2 separate regions of the Homo sapiens genome follow, and region 1 is linked to region 2. The links are contacts of gene promoters, found by promoter capture Hi-C in blood cells and fetal thymus (Javierre and others, 2016). All regions are on one chromosome and are shown on one strand. Each heading gives the region's core, a stretch centred on a gene start or on the middle of the fragment in contact. The rest is flanking DNA. Distances are from core to core; before and after follow the strand shown. Region 1 holds the start of RNF186 (ring finger protein 186). Region 2 holds the start of EMC1 (ER membrane protein complex subunit 1).

What was found. The method cuts DNA at HindIII sites, captures the fragments that hold promoters and counts their contacts. A CHiCAGO score of 5 or more calls a contact.
Region 1: the fragment with the promoter of RNF186 here is called in contact with the fragment with the promoter of EMC1 in region 2 in 1 of 17 cell types (total CD4 T cells); the score reaches 5.8 in total CD4 T cells.

Annotation. Positions count from the first base shown.
Region 1 is chr1:19,814,033-19,819,527 of GRCh38, forward strand. RNF186 (ring finger protein 186) reads right to left here and starts at 1,251. Exons shown (of 1, transcript NM_019062.2): 1 at 1-1,251. The coding sequence starts at 1,069. The coding sequence ends at 386. It overlaps RNF186-AS1 (RNF186 antisense RNA 1), which reads left to right and starts at 377. Exons shown (of 2, transcript NR_186008.1): 1 at 377-521; 2 at 5,211-5,470. RefSeq lists an enhancer at 2,712-3,243. The HindIII fragment of the contact is 1,953 bases long and covers 1-1,428 here.
Region 2 is chr1:19,247,915-19,253,550 of GRCh38, forward strand. EMC1 (ER membrane protein complex subunit 1) reads right to left here and starts at 3,610. Exons shown (of 23, transcript NM_015047.3): 1 at 3,501-3,610. The coding sequence starts at 3,595. It overlaps MRTO4 (MRT4 homolog, ribosome maturation factor), which reads left to right and starts at 3,891. Exons shown (of 8, transcript NM_016183.4): 1 at 3,891-3,949. The coding sequence starts at 3,922. RefSeq lists an enhancer at 3,523-4,028. The HindIII fragment of the contact is 6,293 bases long and covers 961-5,636 here.

The DNA of each region.
Region 1 (5,495 bases), core at 1-2,500, 560 kb after region 2:
TTGCAAAAAGAATGGAATTCCAGTTCTATTCTACAATGGCATCAATACTGCAATACTTTCATCAAGTTATATAAAGAAAAACCAAGAACATTGGAATAAGAGGAACAGGAGCTTCCCCCATCTTGTCATGTTCAAGTAGTTTGTGTCTGCTCCCCTAGCCACCAACAGTTTTAGCTATGCTATCCCAAGGGCAAGTGCAAGCCTGTCATCCAAGCGTGTAATTCTTGACCCAGGCTGGCCATCTCGGTTGTGGCTTGCAAGTCCCGCTGGCATGTGATTTCCCAAAGGAGCCAGTCTTAGTCCGTAACCCCTTACCCTGTTCATTGTGGAAGTCCGGGGGCCCAAGGGCAGAAAGGGCTGCAGGGATAGCCTCATCAGAGGGCACTCAGGCAATGGAAGAGATGTGGCTGTGTTTCTGCTCTCTGCAGAAGAGAGTCCTGGAGGAGGGCCAGCAGCTGCCCCGGGTGCTGGGGAGACAGCAGAAGAGGGTGGACATCAGCAGGGCCAGGGCGATGATGAAGGTGAGCACCCATCGTAAGACACCCGGGTAGATGAAGGGCCCGATGAGGATAATGAGCAAGGCCAGCAGGAGTAGGTGCGCGGCCAGGCGCCGGGCTGCCACGTGGTTTGCACTTACTTCATCCTGTCCATCCTCTCCCACCAAGCTGGGGTGTCCTGCTGCCAAGTCAGCAGGATCCACCAGCCCCTGAGGACAGAGCGATACCTCTGTGCATGGCTGGGCCAGCTGCCCCACCACCGCCTCATGGTCGCGCAGGCTGCAGATGAGGCCCCCGGGGACGGCGGTGACCTTGCGGCACAGCGGGCAGGTGATGGACCAGGTGTTGTCCTGCACGCACAGCAGGAGCTTCAGGCAGATGGCGCAGAAGGCATGCTGGCAGGCCAGCAGCTTGGGCAACCGGGGACAGCTGTAGGGCTCCCGGCACACCAGACACTCCAGGTCACATTCTGTGGAGCCAGAATGACCCCCAGCAGGGGCCACAGCGGTGGTGGTTGTGGTGGCTCCTGCGGAGATGGGCTGGGACTGTTGCAGGGTCTTGGTGCAGGCCATTCTGGGCACAGGGACCGGTGGGACACTGTCGCTCAGCACCTGGGCATTGGCAGAGAGTGTCAGCTGGCGCCGCTGGGACTTGGATGGAATCTGCCCCTCCTTTTCACTCTGGCCAGGTGCCTGTTGACAACAGCTGTCTGACACTCCTCTCTCCCAGAGCTGCCCAGCTTGTTTCTTGGCTTACGTCGTCCCTTCAGTTATTATTATTTATTTTCTCAAAACCTAGGGTTAATCAGTAACTTGCGGGTCTGGAGACTTTGAATTGCCTGATAGGAGGGCAAAGTGGGCAAGGGTCTAGTGAATCAGGACTTTCCTGTTGGGGCCAGGTACCTGGTGGGTGCCCACAGAACTGTGGCTCAAGCTTTAGGAGGCAGCAGAATCCAACTCTCTCACCCCCACTTCCCAGGTCCCTGAACCTTTTATTAATTTTTTTTATTTAACTTTTTTTTTTTTTTTTGAGACGGAGTCTCGTTCTCTCAGGTTGGAGTGCAGTGGCCCGATCTTGGCTCACTGGCATCTACAAATCTGCACAATAAACAGACAGCCCTATGAGTCGGACATAGGTGGATTGGTGGACACTGCTTTCTCAGACACAAACTTTTGGATGTCAGGATGAGTGGAAAAAAGTTTGTTTGCACTTGGAGCACATTTACAGGCAGGTGGCCTTGGAAAGAGGAGGGGAGAGGTAAGAAAAGTGAGTGGAAGGAGGACAAAGCCCAACCCAACGCAGAAAAACAAAACCACATACAGCGCACAGGTGTTTGGCACCTGCTACTGTATTCATTTCCTTAGAGCCACAGCTGTTGTATTCACAGTTACGGGTGTATGAACTTCCCATCGGTGCCCTGCTGCACACTTCACATGCCTAATCACAGGTGTCCTGTTTTGTGCTAGGCATGCTGCGTATCCAGTAGTACTAAGAACAGCTGCCATTTATTTGGGCCTACTCTAAGCCAAGCCCTGTGCCCGGGGTCCCCAGCCCCCATTTCCCGGAACCCTGATACAGCCTTGTAGGGAAGGCTGGGAAACAAGGGCAGGGTGTGGTCAGGGTAGGCTGCTGGCTGCCTGCCAAGGGGCCTTCCATGGAGCAGGACCTTGTGGAATCTACCAGCGTCCAAGGTCTGGTTGAATCAATTTCATTGGTTCATTTGGACACAACTGGCCCCAGCCGGGTGGCGTAGGCTAAGAGGACTCATGTGAGACAGGCAGATATTAGTAACACAGCAGTTAGGAAAACGTGATTTCCTTACTTTGCCCTCAAGGGCAAATGGCGGGGTGGCATGTGCACTCCCTCAAACAAATGTTTCATTCAGGCCACTCTGAACTCAGAAGCCCGTGTGAAGGATCCTTTGGTGCTCATGTCACCTGCCAAGGGCCACACAGAGTCCTGTGCCTCTGATTCAGCTCTTTCCCTTACCCCAGTAGCTGGCACTGCAGGCCACCCTCTGTGTCCTGGAGTCACCAGCCCCAAAGGGGCTCCCTCCCTTGTGGGATCGGTAACTCCCACCTCCCCACTCCCCCTGGGCCCTCTATCTCTGAAATCCAATACTCTCACCATCCCATCCCATTTCTTCTCAACCTGTAGCTAGACCATCAGTTACCTCTGTGAAAGGAAAATAAATCGTGGGGCCCCAAAATCACTAAGCCACAAGGGAAAGTCAAGCTGGAAACTGCTTAGGGCCAGCCTGCCTCCCATTCTATTCAAAGTCACCTCTCTGCTCACTGAGACAAATGCATATCTGATTGCCTCCTTTGGAGATGCTAATCAGAAACTCAAAAGAATGTAACCATTCTTATCCACCTGTGACCTGGAAGCCCCTTCCCCACTTCAGGTCTTCCTGCCTTTGCTTCAAGTTGCTCCACCTTTTCAGATGGAACCAATGTTCATTTTACATATGTTGATTGATGTCTCATGTCCCTCTAAAACGTATAAAACCAAGCTGTGCTCTGTCCACCTTGGGCACATGTCATCAGGACCTCCTGAGGCTGTGTCACGGACATGTGTCCTCAACCTTGGCAAAATAAACTTTCTAAATTAACTGAGACCTGTCTCAGATACTAAGGTATAGATACACATCTATATCACGTTTTCCCCCAGATCAAGCTGAAGGTGGCCTTGGATCTAGGCATGTTTTTTCCCCCATGCCTAGCATTCTTTCCCCTTTTTTGGGTAACAGTTCTCTGTTTTCACTTTGGGCAACCACTGCTTCCCACCGTCATTCTGTGCTCACGGAGAGGGTGATGTCTGGCTCCAGCTCTCTGGAAGTGGGGCCCTGATACAATTCAGGACAGGCCAGTTAGCATGCTCTGCTCTGCTAGCTGCAGCCATTGGTTTGAGCGTAGGCATATAATCGAAGCCAAGCCAATGAGATTCAATTCTGAGACTTCTGTTGGAGCCCTTGAGAAGTTTCTCTTTGTGCTGGGTTTCTAAGTTAGAGGATGGAACCCTGGGGCTGCCAGGACCACAGTGTGCAGAGAACCTGCTCAAGAGTAAGGTCAGCACAAAAGAAAAATGAGAAAAGAATCAGACAAAGGCCTGATGATGTTATTTGAACACCTGAAGCAGGACACCTAGCATTGGATTTTTTCAAGGATATTAACCTATAAAATCTACCCTGATTTTTATTCTTAAGTCAGTTCAAATTGAACTTCTGTCCCTTGCAAGTGAAAGACCTCTATGTAACACAGCAATGGATGAAGAAAAGAAGCCTTTACTTGCTCTCTGACAAAGGGTCAGGCATTGATGAGACAACCAGACTTTGTACACGGACAAGAGTGACCGAATGCCTGTGTGTTACCATGCTAGAAGAGATTCTGTGTTTTCTCTGCTTGGACTTGCATTGCATAATGTTATTTTCTGTTTGTGAGACCCTAGGATGGATTAGGGATGAGAGGAGAAAAATGTGTTGAGCCACATTCATTTATAATAAGAATAGAAAATCAGGTGGGCCACACAGTGATGTTGGCTTGGCCAGTGTCCCTCTCACTTTTTTTTGAGATAGAGTCTCGCTCTGTCTTGCCCAGGCTGGAGTGCGACCTCTGCCTCCCGGGCTCAAGCGATTCTCTTGTCTCAGCCTCCTGAGTAGCTGGGACTACAGGCGTGTGCCACCACACCCGGCTAATATTGTATTTTTAGTGGAGATGGGCTTTCACTATGTTGGCCAGATCGGTCTCAAACTCCTGACCTCAGGTGATTCACCTGCCTCAGCCTCCCAAAATGCTAGGATTACAGGCATGAGCCGCTTCACCCAGCCGGCCAGTGCCTCTCTCTCTAGCCAGCTTAATGGGAAATCAAATTGTCAGAAGGTAGCTGAGTGAGGTTGAAATCAGACCAAGGGAAGTTATTTGGGGTTAGAGCCTAAAAAATAACCTTTTAACATCATTGGGCAACCACCGTTAAGAAAACATATTGGCTGGAACAACCCAAGTATTACAGAAATAAAGTAGAATGTGAAAGTTCATCTTACTGCAACCCCTGAGAAATGACCACTGTTAACAGAGCATTCCTTCCTGTTGTCCTCCTCCTACCATCTTGGCTTAGGAACAACTTTGTTTCTCAAAAGTGCCTTGCCTTAACTATCACCAGCACTGACTATAGCTGGAAATCTGGCTCCTGTCACTTTACCAGCTATGTGACCTTGGGCAAGAATTTTAACTTCACTGCAGTTCAGTTTTAAAATTTGATAAAATGGAGGCCGGGCACAGTGACTCAAGCCTGTAATCCCAGCACTTTGGGAAGCAGAGGTGGGTGGATCGCTTGAGCTCAGGAGTTCGAGACCGGCCTGGGCAATGAGGTGCAACCCTATCTCTACTAAAAATACAAAAAATAGCTGGGCCTGGTGGTGCATACCTGTAGCCCCAGCTACTTGGGAGGCCGAGGCAGGAGGATAGCTTGAGCCTGGGAGGTCGCAGTTGCGTGAGCCAAGATCGTGCCACTGCACTCCAGCCTGGGTGACAGAGTGACACTCTGTATTTAAAAAAAAGTAAATAAAATAAAATAAAACAAAATGGAGACGTTAACACTTGAGGAAATTATGGATTATTTAAGCCCTCCACCCCTGACTACAACCTGCTCACAGGAGGCTTAGTAATTTATGTACTTTGGGTTGTAACTGACCTAGGTGAAATTGATCTCTTCCAGGGACATGAGATAAGACACTTTGGTGACTGATTCGGCCAATGCTTCTTGAAGAGGAGTGAATATGGGCAGAGTCTGAGGTGGAGCCTGAAGCAGATCTACCCCAGGGGAATTCAAAAGTGTCTCCGGAGACTTAAAATGTTAAATTCATCTAGGTTTCACATTCTTCTCCATGTTCTATTTGTGCTTACTGCAACATTAGAATCCCGAAGCATGCACGAATCCTTCCAAATCTCCAAATAAAACATATTTGTTTGTTTTAATTGCTGTACAAATATGAACTCATTA
Region 2 (5,636 bases), core at 2,360-4,859:
TTGGGAGGCTGAGACATGAGAATCACTTGAACCCGGGAGGTGGAGGTTGTAGTGAGCTGAGATCATGCCACTTCACTCCAGGCTGAGCGACAGAGTAAGACTCTGTCCCAAAAAAAAAAAGAGGTATTCCAGAAACAGGCATTGTTATCACAGATGATAGCTCCATGGGTGTTACTGCTCCTGAAAACCTGCCAGTAAGACAGTATGTGGAGGTGGAAGACAGTGATATTGATGATCCTGACCCTATTTAGGCCCAGGCTAATGTGTTTGTGTCTTAGTTTGTTTTTTGTTTGCTTGTTTTTTGAGATGCTCTTACTCTGTCACCCAGACTGGAGTACAGAGGCACCATCACAGCTCACTACAGCCACGACCTCCCAGGCTTAGGTGATCCTCCCACCTCAGCCTCCCGAGTAGCTGGGACTACAGGCACCCACCACCATGCCCGGCTAATTTTTGTATGCTTTGCAGAAATGGGGTTTCGCCATATTGCCCAACCTGTTTTTTGTTTTGTTTTGTTTTGTTTCTGAGATGGAGTCTCGCTCTGTTGCCAGGCTGAGTGCAGTGGCGTGATCTCAACTCACTGCAACCTCCGTCTCCCAGGTTCAAGTAATTCTCCTGCCTCAGCCTCCCAAGTAGCTGGGACTACAGGCGTGTGCCACCACGCCCAGCTAATTTTCGTATTTTTAGGAGAGACGGGGTTTCACCATGTTGGCCACGATGGTCTTGACCTCTTGACTTCGTGATCCACCCGCCTCGGCCTCCCAAAGTGCTGGGATTATAGGCGTGAGCCACCACGCCCAGCCCCAAGCTGGTCTTGAACTCCTGGACTCAAGCCATCCACCCACCTCAGCCTCCCAAAGTGCTAGGATTACAGATGTTAGCCACTGCGCCCGGCCTGTGTCTTAGTTTTTAACAAAATAGTTTAAGACTGAAAAAAAAAATTTTAGTATTGTAGGAAAAAGCTTATAGAATAAAGATATAAGAAAAATATTATTAAGTCAGGCATGGTAGCATATGCCTGTAATCCCAGTTGCTAGGGAGGCTGAGGCAGGAGGCTTGCTTGAGTCCAGGAGTTCAATATCTGCCTGGGGAACATAGCAAGATCCCATGTCAAAAATAAATTTTAAAAATATATTTTTGTACAGCTGTAAAGTCTGTGTTTTATACTAAGTATTATTACAAAAGTCAAAAATTAAAAAAATAAAATGTTTGTAAAGTAAAAAAGTTACATTAAGCTAAGGTTAACTTATTATTGAAGAAATTTTATAAATTTAGTATAGTCTAAATGCACAGTATTTATAAAGTCCACAGTAGTGTACAGTAATGTCCTAAGCCTTTACATTTACTCACCAACCACTTACTGACTAACCCCAGAACAACTCCTAGTTCTGCAAGATACATTCATGTTAAGTGCCCTATACCAGTGTACCATTTTTTATCTTTCATATCCTATTTTTACCATACATTTTCTATGTTTAGATACACAAATATTTACCATTGTGTTACAATTGCCTACAGTTTTCAGTAAAGTAACATGCCGTACAGGTTTGTAGCCTAGGAAGAATAGGCTGTACCATATAGCCTAGGTGTGTAGTAGGCTAAACCATCTAGATTTACATAAGTACATGCTACAACGTTTGCACAAGAGGGCATTTCTCAGGATGTATTCCCATCATTAAGTGATGCATACCTGTATGTCTTCATTTATTTTTCAATCTGAAAACTGTAGGCCAGGTGCAGTGGCTCACACCTGTAATCCCAGCACTTTGGGAGGCCGAGGCAGCCAGATTGCTTGAGCCCAGGTGTTCAAGACCAGCCTGGGCAACATGGCAAAACCCCGTCTCTACAAAAAATACAAAGAAACTGGAGAGGTGTGCACCAGTAGTCCCAGCTACTCAGGAGGCTGAGCTGGGAGGGTCACTTGAACCTGCAAGGTCAAAGCTGCAGTGAGCCATGATAGTACTGTACTCCAGCCTGGGCTACAGAATGAGTCCCTGTCTCAAAAAATTTTAAAAAGTCTTGGCTGGGCGCAGTGGCTCCCACCTGTAATTCCAACACTTTGGGAGGCCTAGGCGGGTGGATTACCTGAGATCGGGAGTTTGAGACCAGCCTGACCAACATGGAGAAACCCTGTCTCTACCAAAAATACAAAAATTAGCTGGGTGTGGTGGCGCATGCCTGTAATCCCAGCTACTCGGGAGGCTGAGGCAGGAGAATCGCTTGAACCCCAGAGGCGGAGGTTGTGGTGAGCCATGAGATCGCGCCATTACACTCCAGCCTGGGCAACAAGAGCAAAACTGTCTCAAAAAAAAAAAAAAAAAAAAAAAAAAAAAGTCTTAAACAGAGTCCTTTTCCCCCCTCATCAGCCTAACCTGGCCCTGGGCTCAGAGCAGAGCTGCCCAAGACACTAAGCAGTTAGGAAATGCCATTCATTCATTCATTCATTCATGAAAATAAAATTAAGAAAATTGCATATATCAAGTATTCTGCAAAATTAGATACACATATCACCCGATATATATGTGTAACATACACATATGACATTGTGAACAGTTGTGCACATCATTAAAAATGTAACATGTTTTATTTGTCACACTGTCTGGCATAACAGGTACTCAACATATATGCGAATCAACTTTTCCAAGACAGAAAATACTTCAGAGGAGGAGAAATCTGACCTGGGCCCTGAAGAATAAAGTGTAAATAGCAATAATAACAGATAACGCTTAATGACTGCATTCAATGAGCCAGGCATTGTGCTAAGTAATTTAATGGGATTGTCTCATTCATTCTCACAAGTACTGTAAGAGATAACGGACTGTTAGTAAACCCATTCTACAGACAAAGAAACCAAGGCACAGAGTGGTTAAGTCACTTTCCCCAAGATCACACAAGTCTTAACTAGTAAAATTCAAACAAAAGCAAGCTACTCCAGGGCCTTAAGGAAGACGTGGGTGGGTGAATGAATGAATGAGTGAATGGCATATTCTAGCTGCTTAGTGTTTTGGGCAATCCTGCTGTGAGCCCAGGGCCAGACTAGGTTGATGAGAGGGGAAAAGGACTCAGTTTAGGACTTTTAAGACGAAAGCTCCTGTTCACTTGCCTACAAGACACCAATTCGAGTAGGAATTAAAGTTCACTGACAGCTTGGCGACCTCTGACACCTGGTAGACCAGAAACCTCACAGTCAAAAAAATCGAACCTGACGAGGGAGGACGGGATCAGTGATCTCTGACCGGCACCCCAAGCATTCCTGGATGGCAGGGCCGGCTTACACGCAAGGATCAGCTTAGAATGACCCCTAACACTTGGTTTAAGGCTCTGCTTCCAACGACTTTAAATCCTTAATAATTTTTTAACAAGGGGCCCCACGTTTTCATTTTGTACTGGGTCCTGCAAATTATGCGGCCAATCCTGTTAAGTGACAACCTTTAGCAGGTAGGAGACAGGTACTGGGGAAACAGCCACTTATCTCTCGAATATGTTCCACACGTACGCACCAATCAAACTTGCCCACTTGGTCTTCGTAGACCGCGGCCGCAGGAATCAGCAGCGTAGCCCAAAGCCAGAAACGAGAAGCCCACTCAGCCGCCATGATGCGAGCGCATGCACCACCCACCGCCGTCCCGGCATGCACCGCGCCGCGGGCTCCGCCTCCGCGGGACCACAGAGCTGGGATAGCGCGCGAGGCCCTCGGTCGGACGGGACGCTCGGGATTCAGGGACTGCCTCGGCACACGGGAAGTTGCCCTACAGGCGCGGGAGAAAGCGCAGGCGGCGGCTTGGCAGGGAGAGGCAGGCTGCAGTGCACATTGGGTCAGGCACACGCGAGGGGCAGCCCCCGAGGGCCGTCCCAGAGTCCCCCGCGCCGCCGGGGTCCTAACGGGGTGCACCGTCTTCCGCCGCACGTGGATTCAGCGCGATGCCCAAATCCAAGCGCGACAAGAAAGGTGGGCGAAGGGGGAGTCGGGACCCTGGGGGGAGCTCCGTGGGCTGGCTACCCAGCCTGCGGTGAGGGCTTCGGGGCGGCGGGGGCGCAGATTGGAACGCCAGGACATCCTCGAGGTGTTCCGCTGCCTCGCTGCGAGCTGGAATGGGGGCTTCGGGGCTGTAAAACCGCCAGAGGTGGCTGACGCCCGGTCGGGTCTGGGGAGCGGAGACTCGTTTTGCCTAGTTTCAGGTGCTCTTGCAAGGCCAACTGGGTCGGGAGGCAGCTCCTGAACACCGCCCCCGGCTATGCCTGCTGCCGTTTCGGCCCACTTTTCCCAACTTCGGCCCTTTCTCATCTTCCTGCGCTCCCGCCACCCTGGCTGCCTTTCCCTTCTTTCAGCACAGGTTTGTTCCCGTGTCTGGCGTTGTGTGTCTGCGGTTGTTTCTGCCTGGCATGCTTACATCTTCGTATGGTTTGCGCCTTCTTAGTTGTCAGTTAATAGGATCCCTCTGAGACAGGGTCTCGCTCTGTTGCCCAGGCTGGAGTGCAGTGGCGCGATCGTAACACTGCAGGCCGGATGCGGTGGCTCACGCCTGTAATCCCAGCACTCTGGGAGGCCGAGGCGGGCGAATCATCTGAGGTCGGGAGTTCCCGACCAGCCTGGCCAATATGGTGAAACCCCTTTTCTACTAAAAATACTAAAAATTAGATGGGCATGGTGGCAGGTGCCTGTAATCCCAGCTACTTGGGAGACTGAGGCGGGAGAATCGCTTGAATCCGGGAGGCGGAGGTTGCAATGAGCCGAGATCGCTCCACTGTACTGCAGCCTGGGCACGACAGAGCGAGACTCCGTCTCAAAAATAAATAAATAAAATAAGTCACTGCAGCCTTGACCTCCTTGGCTTAAGCGATCCTCCCACCTCAACCTCCCGAGTAGCTGAGACTACAGGCGCACGCCACCACACCCAGCTAGGTTTTTTTTGTTTATTTTTTATAGAGAAGACTCAGTGTGTTGCCAAGCTGGTCTCGAACACCTGGGCTCCAACCACCCTCCCTGAGTGCTGGGATTACAGGCGTGAGCCACTACACCCGACTTGCGCACCTCTTAAGAGACCGTTTTTGACCACCTTTGCTGTGGTGGCCTCTCTCTTAACCCGGCTCCCTGGAATATTCAAAAATATTTAGGGGTCTGGCACTTTCTAGGCGTTAGAGGATACAGCAGTCACAAGGAAAGCCTATTTCTTATCGAGCCTAACGTTTTAGGAGAAACATATTCCGCAAAATGCTAAAAATCAGATTGAAAATGGGGTGAAGAGATGTTGATATTTTGTATAGTGTGGTCGGGAAAGGTCTCACTGATGAAGTGACAAATGAGCAGAAAATAAAGAAAGGAAGCGAGCAACCTGTGGAATTGAGCAGCTGTGGAATTATCTGGGAGAATGCTGTTCCAAGTAGAGGGAACCTGAAGTGAAAAGGCTCTGAAATGGGAGCAGATATGACGTGTTTGGGACAAGAGGCCAGTGAGGCTGGAGCAGAAGGAGCCAAATAGAGTTTGGGGAGGGAGTTAGGCAGAGAGGGCAGGACTTCCTCGGCCTTGGCAAGGCATTGGCTTTCCTGCCCAGGTGAAGTGAGTAGCAGAGGACCCATGTGATTTACCTTTACTTATGAAGGGTCACTCTGGTTGCCTTGGTGAGAATAGTTGGGGA